Linked DNA regions of Homo sapiens: region 2 is linked to region 1. Evidence: promoter capture Hi-C in 16 types of primary human blood cells and fetal thymus (Javierre and others, 2016). All regions are on one chromosome and are shown on one strand. Each heading gives the region's core, a stretch centred on a gene start or on the middle of the fragment in contact. The rest is flanking DNA. Distances are from core to core; before and after follow the strand shown.

What was found. Contacts are between HindIII fragments. The CHiCAGO score rates a contact against its expected background, and 5 or more counts as called.
Region 2: the fragment with the promoter of USP1 here is called in contact with the fragment with the promoter of CMPK1 in region 1 in 1 of 17 cell types (total CD8 T cells); the score reaches 5.0 in total CD8 T cells.

Annotation. Positions count from the first base shown.
Region 1 is chr1:47,332,369-47,338,446 of GRCh38, reverse strand. CMPK1 (cytidine/uridine monophosphate kinase 1) reads right to left here and starts at 4,657. Exons shown (of 6, transcript NM_016308.3): 1 at 4,331-4,657. The coding sequence starts at 4,501. RefSeq lists enhancers at 3,535-3,594, 3,111-3,914, 3,915-4,718 and a silencer at 4,105-4,744. The HindIII fragment of the contact is 8,075 bases long and covers 3,750-6,078 here.
Region 2 is chr1:62,432,693-62,438,415 of GRCh38, reverse strand. USP1 (ubiquitin specific peptidase 1) reads right to left here and starts at 1,367. Exons shown (of 9, transcript NM_003368.5): 1 at 1,016-1,367. RefSeq lists a silencer at 711-770 and enhancers at 1,471-1,540, 1,365-2,132, 2,101-2,450, 2,133-2,900. The HindIII fragment of the contact is 3,360 bases long and covers 1-2,771 here.

The sequences.
Region 1 (6,078 bases), core at 3,408-5,907:
ATCCCAAAACCTCCCTCCAATCTTTCCTTCCCAGTACAGAACACTCTCAGAAGACACTGTATCAGATTTGCCTTTACCTTCTCTAGGTCTCCAGGAGCAATTTGCAGAGCAGAATTCACCTCCAGAGAAAAAATACCAGCTTCCCTCTAACAATACCCACTTCACTAATTTCAGTGCCTTAGAGAGCAAGATATCCCTAAGGGTTTTTGGTTTTCTCTTTTTCTTCTCTTCCTGTCAACTGAAGATTCTGTAGCTAGGACTCAAATATGTACTTCTGGCAGCCTGAGTTGGAAATCAACATACTAAAGTAACAATTTCAGGTGCCCTGTGAGCTGCATTAGCTTCAGCCAGATTAATTGGAGAATTTACCGTGGATTTATGTAATTTTTTTCCTACAGGAAAAAAACCTCCAAAACTTACATTATTTTGGAATTTAGTTTATAATTGCCTGTATAAAAAAATATTGAGTCAAAATAAAGAGATTCACAAAGGAAAAAAACAACATACCGCTGACTTCACTAACAATAGATATTCCAGGCCGGGCACAGTGGCTCACACCTGTAATCCCAGCACTTTGGGAGGCCAAGGTGGGTGGATCACGAGGTCAGGAGTTCGAGACCAGCCTGGCCAACATAGTGAAACCCCGTCTCTACTAAAAATACAAAAATTAGCCGGGCATGGTGGCGCGCACCTGTAGTCCAAGCTACTCGGGAGGCTGAGGCAGAGAATCGCTTGAATCCAGAAGATGGAGGCTGCAGCGAGCCAAGATTGCCCCACTGCACACCAGCCTGGCCGACAGCGTGACACTTCGTCTCAAAAAAAAAAAAAAAATAGATATTCCAGTGTCTGTCTAGCCAGCTAGGGAATAGCAATTGCTAAATTATAAACTATTTGGAATTAGTTGATTGACAGCTTAATAAAGTTTATGGCAACTAGACTCAAGAGAATACTTTTCATTAAAGAAGATAACAGTTTAAGGTCAAATAATTGTTGAAATCTTAATAATATAATACATTACAGAACATATCTCATCATGGAATCTTGTAACTGATAATTAACAAGTTTAAAATATTATTTGCCATTACTGAACAGAATAAAGAATAATTGCAGAATGTGTAGATTATTTCATTTATGTATTTATTTATTTATTTATTTTATTTTTTTGAGATGGAATCTCGCTATGTCACCCAGGCTGCACTGCAGTGGCGTGATCTTGGCTCACTGCAAGCTCCGCCTCCCCGGTTCATGCCATTCTCCTGCCTCAGCCTCCCAAGTAGCTGGGACTACAGGCGCCTGCCACCACGCCCGGCTAATTTTTGTATTTTTAGTAGAGATGGGGTTTCACCTTGTTAGCCAGGATGGTCTCAATCTCCTGACCTCGTGATCCACCCGCCTGGGCCTCCCAAACTGCTGGGATTACAGGCGTGAGCTACTGCGCCCAGCCCTGAATGTGTAGATTATTTTTTAACCAGTGTAGTAGTATGGGTATTATTAATTTAGGTACAGATATTTTAAAGGCATATTATGATTCAGAAACAGCATACTGTATTTAAATGCATTCAAATATAACACGCATAAAGTAATTTAAAAGAAAAATACTATTTTGCAATAAAAATAACCAGGCCAGGCATGGCGGCTCATGCCTGTAATGCCAACACTTTGAGAAGCCAAGGCAGTAAGATCCCTTGAGTCTGGGAGTTCGAGACCAGCCTGGGCAATATAGTGAGCCCTGGTTTCTACAAAAACCTGAAAAAAAGTTAGCAGAGAGTGGCAGTGCACACCTGTCATCCCAGCTACTTGGGAGACTGAGGTGAGAGGATGGCTTGAGCCCAGGAGGCAGAGGTTGGAGTGGGCCAAGATGGTACCACAGCACTCCAGCCTGGGTGACACAGAGAGACTCGATCTCAAAACAAACAACAACAACAAAACCCACCAATAAAAATAACCAATATAATAAGATCAGGAAGTTTAAAGTAGAGGTAATAAGATCAGAAGTTTAAAGTGGAGAAAAAAACTATCTGCATCTGTCTCTGTGTGCCAGATATTTTACCTCATTTAATATTCACAAATACCATACAAAACAGCCATTTCTATGTTTTCCCTTTTCACAGGGAACTAAAGGCAACAACATCTCTGGGCCTAGAGAAACAGTAAATGGCAGAGTCAGGGTTTGAACCTATATCTCTTTGACTCTAAAGTCTTTGCCCCTTCCCCCATCATGCTATTTAAGAAAGATCACATATACTAAACAAAAATTTGAAATCACTCCCACTTTTCACTTGCCATTTATTTATTTATTTATTTATTTCTGAGACGGAGTCTCGCTCTGTCGCCCAGGCTGGAGTGCAGCAGCCAGTCTCTTTACTTTTTAAAAGACAAGTGACAAGGCCAGGCACGGTGGCTCATGCCTATAATCCCAGCACTTTGGGAGGCTGAGGCGGGCAGATCACGAGGTCAAGAGTTCGAGATCAGCCTGGCCAACATGGTGAAACCCTGTCTCTACCAAAAATACAAAAATTAGCCAGGCGTGGTGGCGCACGCCTGTAATCCCAGCTATGCAGAGGCTGAGGCAGGAAAATCGCTTGAACCTGGGAGGCGGAGGTTGCAGTGTGCTGAGATCGCACCACCGCACTCCAGCCTGGTGACGGAGTGAGACTGTCACAAAAACAAAAACAAAAACAAAAAAACAACAAAAGAAAGAGAACCAACAAAAAAAAATTTTTTTAAGAGGATGTAAATGTTATGTATTTTTTTAGTTGGACTAGTTCCACTTTGACACCTAAAATGATTTTTTTTTTTTTTTTTTTTTTGAGACGGAGTTTCACTCTTTCGCCCAGGCTAGTGTGCAGTGGCGCGATATGGGCTCACCGCAACCTCCGCCTTCCGGTTTCAAGCGATTCTCCTGCCTCAGCCTTCGGAGTAGCTGGGATTACAGGCGCCCGCCACCACGCCAGGCTAATTTTTGTATTTTTAGTAAAGACAACGTTTCGCCATGTTAGCCAGGCTGGTCTCGAACTCCTGACCTCGTGATCCGCCAGCCTCGGCCTCCCAAAGTGCTGGGATTACAGGAGTGAGCCACAGCGCCTGGCAAAATGATCAATATTTATAAATACATCTGTCCAACACATAATGACTTGTTGAACTCATCTAACTTTCTCTGGATGCTATTTAGGGAATAAAATACAGGACAGGAGTTGATTGTTATGAACATATAAGGAGAGAAGCAAAAGCCCCATGCTAATATTGGCCATATCCTAGAAGAGGAGGAAATTATAAGTTCTAGGTCAAAAAAACTTTTGTTGGTTACAGGGTTTCAGAGTGATTTCACTAGAGGCCACCAATGGTCGCCTCTTCTGTTTCTAGATATCCTGTTTTCCTTCTTTCCCAAGCATTCCCCAGATTGTCCATGAAGCCTTTTTTTCCCACAGTGTCAATGCAGCTAACCAACCATACATCTAGCTCAAAAATTGTTAAAAGAATTGAACTGGTAACCTGTCTCAAAGCAAAAGAAAAAAAAGTAACAGCATTTTACATTTGGGAGGTGTTTTATATCCTGAGAAAATCTGGGTTCAGAGACTCTTTTTACTGTATTACAAGGGCTAACTGAGGCTGGGAGACAGGAAGTGACCGAGGGCCGAGCGTGAGTTGGCAGCAGGGCCAAAGGTTGAAGCTTGATCTCAGAACAGCACTCCCGGCTTTCCCCATCCCCGACCCGGGCCGAGCCTCAGGGCTGGCTCCGCCCTAAAGCTTGCGGGGACGGGGCTCGAGAGTGCCAGCGGCAGCCCACAGCACGCCTAAAATAACACCCCGCCCCACGGGCCTCCTTTCTAGAGTAAAGACACGTTCGGTGACAGTGCGGAGTTTAGGGAACCAGAGGGAAGGCGCGGAGAAGAAAAATAGGTCTCTCCTTCAGACAACTGTGGGCGCACACGGCCTCTAACCCAAATCCGCGCTCCTGCTGCCTTCACCTGCCACACGATCAGCGACACGCTAACCTCTGCGCGCTGGGGGACCCCCAAAGGTTGGCCTCCGGGATCCCTCTCCCAGCCCACTCTAGAGACGAATCTGGTCCCCAAAATGTAAGAAAAGAAGGGGCGCAGGAACAAAGCGACCTCAAGCGGTGGCCCCCAAGGCGGGCGGGCGCGGACTACAAGTCCCGGCACGCCGCGCGCCGGCGGCCCTCGGCCACTGCCACGCGGGCGGCGCGGTGGCCGCCGGGACTCGTAGTCTGCGGCTCGGCGACTCCGCGGGGCGCGGACTAGGGGCGGCGGGACAGGCCGGCCCGCATCCCGTCAAGCCCCAAGGAGCCCGCCTGCTGCCCGGGCCTCACCTCGACGATGCGGGCGCACTGGGTCCCCTTGCCGGCGCCGGGGCCGCCGAGGACGAACACGACCAGCGGCTTCATGAGACGTGGAGAGCAGAGGAGAATCGGCCGGCGGGTCTGCAGCAGGAAGCTAAGGCCCAGGACGTGGAGCAGCCCGCTGCGGCAGCGGCTCAGCATACACCGCGCCTCGGCCGGACGCTGAGGGAGCTGACAGCGGCCGGCGCGGCGCGGGGCGGGGCGGGGAGGCGGCGGGAGAAAGGGGCGGGCTGAGCCGGCGCCCGCCGCGGCCCCGCCGCCGTGGCTGCCCGGGCGTCCGCGGCCCTGTCGGAAGGGGAGGAGCTTCGCACGGCGGCGGCGTCTCGGCGACACTCGTGCGGTCCGCGCCAGCTTTCCTCCAACCCTTGGGTGGTTATTAGTGCTTTCTGACTGCAGATATTTTATCCTGCGCCCTCAAGTGTCTGGTGCTGAGCTGGAGGCTGGGACGTGATCCGCGGGAGAGCAAAACCTATTGTCTCTGCTCGCAATGAGTTTCCATTCCAGCCAGTGAGGTATGGGGAGGTAGCCAGTGTGAATGAGTAAACACCAGTACATACAAAAGGCAGTACGATTTTGAAGAAATAACAAGTAGGACATAAGATGGCCAGGGTCGCCAGAGAAGGCTTCAGAAGAGGTGACATTCAAGCCAAGACAAAAGGATAGAAAAGAGCGAAACCAGGCAAACACCAGGATAGAGTGTCCCACAGAGAAAAGCATGTGCAAAAAATCTAAGTTGGTTTGGCATGTTAAAGCAATTGAAGGAAGGCCTGGCTGGGCGCGGTGGCTCACGCCTGTAATCCCAGCATTTTGGGAGGCTGAGGCAGGAGGATGGCTTGAGCCCAGGAGTTCGAGACCAGCCTGGACAACATGACGAGACCCCGTCTCGACCAAAAATTTAAAAGCCGGGCACCGTGACCCGTGCCTGTGATCCCAGCTACTGGGATGTTCACTTGAGCCTAGGAGCCGTAATAGCACCACTGCACTCCTGCCTAGGTGACAATGAGACTGCTTCAAAAAAAAAAAAGGAAAAAAGGCCAGTGACAGTGAGACCAGGGCTGAGTCAAATGAGGGGAGAATGGAAGGTGAAAAGTTGAGAAAGTGAGGTCGGTGGCAGATCAGGACTTTTGATTATGGAAAGGAATTTGGGCTGTATTCTAACAGCAATGGAAGCCCTTTAACTCCGTTCGCCTGCCCCCTTCATTAGGGAAGAATCTTAAGGGAGAAGAAAAGGAGACGTTCAAGAACTGAGCCTTGGTGCATACAGGCCTTTAAAAGGCCTTCTGGCCAACGTTAAGAGCTCATTTGATATTTGAGGTAACGGATTCAAAATAATTGAAGATGTTTGGCCATTCAGGCACAGGCAGAGAAGGCAGCTTGTTGCATTTACTGAGGGTTGGGATTTTGCCTGGCAAGTACAACAGAGAGAGGGGGCCAAGTGATGAGAGTGTTTGGAAGAGAATGTTCATGATGCTGTGTGTAGAATCAAAACCATACAGGAAAGCAAATAATGGCACATGAAGCCTGGTAGTGGAGGGGTTGGAGGGTGGTGGGGAAAGGGACCAATGTCTTAGAGCATTGGCCCAAGAAAGATTGCAGTGGGGTATATGAGCAAGTGCTCTGGCAGTATGGATGCTGCTGGTCTGAGTGGGATATTTGGAATTGAAATGTCCCAGCTTCTGAGTTTCTGATGATGCCAAGGTCCAGGGTGAGACCATGGG
Region 2 (5,723 bases), core at 118-2,617, about 15 Mb before region 1:
TCCATCTCTCCATTCTGTCTCCAACTTCACTTACTCTCCTGTCTACCTAATGCTTCTGAGGAAGCGCTGTCTTCTGAATGATAAACCAACCTGCGCTAAGTTCTCAGGGATCGCCAAGCATTAATGATTCTGATAAAAGGTTTTTCTCGAGAGCCAATTTAATGGATGACAGAAACTGGATCTCAAACCGACAGAGTAACCAGACTACACAGAAGGGAAGAATGATTAGGCAGGTGAAATAGCGGATCGTCAGCTTAATCAAAAAACCAAACCTCCTAGCCCCTCAAAGCAAAGCTCACACCGAGAATGTAACATTTTGCCAGGTGCAGTATCTTCCTTGCTATTTCTTGCTCCTGGCTTTCCTTGTAACTGGGGGGCTGTTACATCCAAAATATTTCTCCTGTAACTAAATCAACTTTCGCAGAAAGCACGACGAATCGACCATTATCTGTTGACAGCGTGAACACTCAGTCCCAATAGTTTTAAATTCTTTATAAGATGACACGACTCGATTCCGATTTTTCAACAAAAATCTACAAGGACATCTTCGCCAAGGTTTAAGACACGCGGCGTTCTAAACACTTCTTGAAAAAGTGTAAGTGAAAGAAAATGCGCGGTAAAATTTCGCAATTACCGACACAGGGCAACCTGCGTGGAAACGTTTCTTTCTCCCCATCCTTCACCGCTCTCGGGAACGGAAAGAAAGCTGGAAGGACGAGCAGCGACCAGGCTGCCCGGTCGGGGGAGGCTGGCGGCGGCGTCCTCGGCCCACACCCCCGCGCCGGGCGCCCTCGCCGCGGAGTTGGCCTATTTACGCCCAGCCCGCACCTGCCTTCTCGCGTCCCGGCGGCGGCAAGACAGGCGCCACGCCCGAGGCACACACGGCTCCCCCTGGCAGGTCGACCAGGGTGCGAGGCCAACACGGTCCCGGGGTCTCCCCGGCAGCTCCTCTCCCGCGCCGGCCGAACTTGCCCCCGCGCCCGGGAGCCGGCCCCTCCTCCCAGGCCCTCCTTACCTGGTCATGGCCCAAAGCGAAGTCCGCGGCGGTGACGCCGGCAAGTCCAACCCGAATGAGTGTGGGTGCGACAGGTGAGTCCCTGCCCCGAGCCCGCCGGGTCCCCGGCCCCAGGAAAATCTGGTCGGCTCGCCCTCCCCGCGGGGGAGTGACCATCCGCTCCCAAGAGCGGGAACCCCGACCGCCGCTCGCTCCCGTCTTGCACCAACACCAACTACATCCCGGGAGCGGCGCCCATCTGCGCCCGCCCCGGGAGAGCCAGGAGCGCAACAAGCAGCGGCCCCGCTCGCCGAACGCCTGAACCGCTAGGGTCTTTAGCACTCCGCCACCGAGGGGAACTTGGCGCGTTTTCCTCAGTCTCAGGACCCCCGTGTTTTAGCCTCCGCCCGCGCCAGCGCTGCGATTGAACGTGGCGTCCTTTGAAATTGCCGGTTCCAGTCTCCACGCTGCAGAGACACGAAAGGCAGGAGCCGTCTCGCGACGGCCACTCGCCCCTGGCACGCACGGGCTCCGGAGCCAGCTGGGACTGTAGTTCCCCAAAAGCCTAACGGGTTCCACAGTTTCAAACAACGCAGGCACAGAGCCGGGCAGCTCGTGCGGGTCCTCGCTGAGGGCGCGCGCGAGGTGCTAGCGGCCTGGCTGGCGGGCTCGAGCCTCACACCCTTTTTTTAACCATTCGTGCGCGCGAGTTGAGGGAAAAGCGTACGGGTCGGGAGACGGGACAGAGAGCAGACGGGATGGGCCACCACCTCGAGAAGGAGCCCAAATTCACCAATCCATGATGAACAATCCCCAAAACCGCGCCTCCCACCGCCCGGGGGAAGCCAATCAGAAGTACCTAGACCAAAGCCAATTAGATGGGCGGGAGCAGCAAGCCCATCTAATAGCAAAAAAGAAGAAAGGTGGGCTCCAGCCAATCATTGTTCGACATACGGAGTGTTCCTCAGGCGCGGTGCCCCTCCTTCCGCTCTCATTGGCGCTCGAGTGCGCGCTTTCGCTGCCGACTGTTAAAATCTTGTTTGGCGTTTTGTTAATCCTCGACGGTGGGACGCCGCGGAGGGTGCGGCTTCCGGAGCGAGGCCCTCGCGGTAAGCCCCGCCTCCGTTCGTGCGTACGCGCCCGGGCGGGGTTACCAAGAGAGCAGCTTCGGAAAATGGCTGCCCGGCTGGACGCCGCCGCGCTTGGGCTTTCAGTTCGGAGTCGCGGCCACACTAGGCCTAGGGCCATCCAATGAGACAAGGCGCTGCCACGGATAACAATACATGCTCAGGCGAATGCTGTAGAGCTGAGGCCCGGTCCTCAGCCCCTGCTCGCCTCATTTTCGCCTGTTTACCTCTTCCCTTTCTCGGCCGCAGGAGGAAACGAAAGAACAGTTTCAGGCCCAGCTCCGGCCGCGGGAGCTTCCCAGGGTTCCCGCGCGAGCCCTCCCAAAGGGTTCAGGAGCGGCAGGCAGGCCTCATCTGGTTGTGTGCTTCCTTTTGTGTTTGTGTGCCTGCTTTGGTGAGGTGACCTCAGCTCAAGTGCTGCAGTTAAGCAGGATACGTTCAGCCCAAATCCATTTAATCAAGTATTTTTAAGGTGCCTACTATGTGCCAGGCATTTTTCAAGGCGCGAGGGATGTAAAGGCATTCCCTGTCATAAAGGAGCATTACATTCTGGAGAGGGAGATACAAGTGACGCTAAGATAAGTGATAGATACGATAGCCTGGAAAGACCTCTTTGAGTTGACATTTGAGCAGAGCTGAATGAAAAAGCTTGGAGGAATCTGAGGGAAGAATGGTGCGGGCAGAGAGAACAGCAAGTTACAAACGTCCTGAAGCTTAATGTGGTTGGTGTTTTGAAAAGAAGCAAGGAGGCCAGGGCGCTTAGAGCGCAGTCAATTTGGGAAATAAGATGGGAGGAGATGAGATGAGTGAGAAAGGCAGGACCCTGGGTAAGCCGAGTAAGGAGATGGGAGTCGTTAGATGATTCTGAGCTGGGGAGTGGCGGGATTACACGTTGACCTTCAAGAGTACAAGCAGGGTCGGGCGTGGTGGCTCACGCTTGTAATCCCAGCACGTTGGGAGGCCAAGGCGGGCTGATCTCTTGAGGTCGGGAATTCGAGACCAGCCTGACCAACATGGAGAAACCCCGTCCCTACTAAAAATACAAAATTAGCCGGGCGTGGTGGCGCAGGCCTGTAATCCCAGCTACTCCGGAGGCTGAGGCAGGAGAATCGCTTGAACCCAGGAGGCGGAGGTTGCGGTGAGCCGAGATCGCCTCACTGCACTCCAGCCTGGGCAACCAGAGCAAAACTCTGTCTCAAAAAAAGAAAAGTACCAGCGGAAAGGTCAGCCAAGATGCTGGTTCAATAAGCCAAGGAATAAATTATGGTAGTCTGGAATAAGATGGTGGGATGTTGAAAACTGGTAGGGTTCAAGATATATTTTGAGCACAGCCAACGAGCTCTACTGATGGATTGGCTGTATGATAATGTAAGAAAAAACAGGTCGGGTAGCCAGGGCCGGTGGACCGCTTGAACCCAGGAGTTCAAGATCAGCCTGGGCAACATGGCAAGACCCATCGCTACAAAAAACTCCAAAAATTGGCCGTGCGTGGTGGCACGTGCCTGTAGTCCCAGCCACTCGGGAGGATGAGGGAGGAGGATCCCCTGGCTGCAGTGAGCCGAGATGCACCACTGCACTCCAGCCTGGGCAACAGTGTGAGGCCCTGCCCTCCACCCTCCCACCCGAAAAAAGAAAAAAAAACAAAGAGTAACGATTTTTTTTTTAACCTGAGCAACTCAGTGTTGGTCCTTGCTAAAATGGGGGTCTTAGTAGGCTCAATGGGAAGGATCATCGTTCTTAGAATATTAAGATTGAGGTGTTTAACGTACAAACAGATGTTGAACCAGCAGATCACGAAATACACAAGGACAAGATTAGAAAATGTATATAGGTCAGTCTTAGCCATTGTGCACCACAGAGTGGCAGTGTCTCATTTTCTAGTACTAGCATAATTATTGCTACTTTCAAACTCTACGAGAACAGATAAGCAATTCTACTTTCCCATATTCCTGAGATCCTATTGTCTGCAGCCACTATTCTTCCTGTACACAATGTGTGGTATCAGTTAAGATTCATTTGCGGAAAATAGAATCCATTTTAGCTAGTATAAACACAAAGATATTGAATACTTGGGAGGGTTGATTAAATAGGCTCTAGATTAGTTTTTCAGGAATGAGTCCCAAAGTCTTCCCAGAACCAGGCCACCAAGGAAGCAATGACTCTTCTATGATCAGGAAATGACGTCTCTGAATCACACTGCTGCTGCCATGCCTAGGAAACCACCATCAGAAAGCTGCGTGCACCGCTGACCCTAGAACCACACTATACCCACTATGATCTGCACCAGTGCCATGCATATCCTACGTCCCGTCTGTCAAGGCCCACAGGACAAGTGGCTAGACACTGAGGTTTCTGCTAATGCTGCTTCAGAAAAATCAAACACCTCCACAACTGTGCTTGTCAACAGCAATAGCAGAAGTTTGGTGTGTCTCTGGCAATATGATTAATGTAAAAATTTAATATGCTTCTCATTCTTTTGCTTTCAGTCAGTTGTTTGTGGGAGAAATTCTAGCCACAGTTCTTGCCTAGATGAGTTTTTAAGCCCCGAAACTTTTTTCCCAGTTTCTGTGTGCTCCCCAGTTACCCCACTCTTAATGACAGCTAATCCCTTTGGAAACAATGGGATTTAATAGGTTCACAGCATTCTCAATCCTATATTTGTCAGTCTTGTGTGGGTAAATGCCAGGCATATTTCCTTCCAAAGTTTCACAGGCACTGTTTCTGTGTACAGTCATCCCTTGGTATCCATGGGGGATTGGTTCCAGGACCGTTATGGATATCAAAATCCGAGGATGCTCAAGTCCCATATATAAAATGGCATAGTATTTGCATACAACTTATGCACATCCCACCTATACTTTAAATCATCTCTAGATTACTTAATTACCTAATACAATGCCTACACATCATTCACATGGATTTAACATAGTATTTAACACTTGGCACGTGGCAAATTCAAGTTTTGCTTTTTGGAACTTTGTGTACCTTTTTCATAAGATTTTTTGATCTGTGGTTGGTTGAATCCATGTATATGGAACCCATGAATGTGGAGGGCCAACTGTACTTCAGTCTAAAGGTATAGAAGAAGTGTGGTTTTTTTCCGCCCTTTAAATCTTCAAATTATGAAACTTTTATTTTTATTTTTTTGAGATGGAGTCTTGCTCTGTCCCCCAGGCTGGAGTGCAATGGCATGATCTTGGCTCACTGCAACCTCCACCTCCTGGGTTCAAGCAATTCTCCTGCCTCAGCCTCCCAAGTAGCTGGGATTACTGGTGCCTGCCACGACGCCCAGCTAATTTTTGTATTTTTAATAGAGACGGGGTTTCACAGTGTTGGCCAGGCTAGTCTCGAACTCCTGACCTCGTGATCCGCCTCGGCCTCCCAAAGTGCTGAGATTACAGGCATGAACCACCACGTCCCGCCCAAATTATGAGACTTTTAATCCACTTGGATTACAGCAGAATTTCTCCTTTAGCAAAACTGTATTCTTTTCCATTTCTACATGCAAATTGGTTACTTCTGGCCTGAATTCATATCTCATAGAACTTGGTTTAAAGTGTCAAGAAAAAGCCAGCAAATACCAAGTTTATAGATATTTCCAG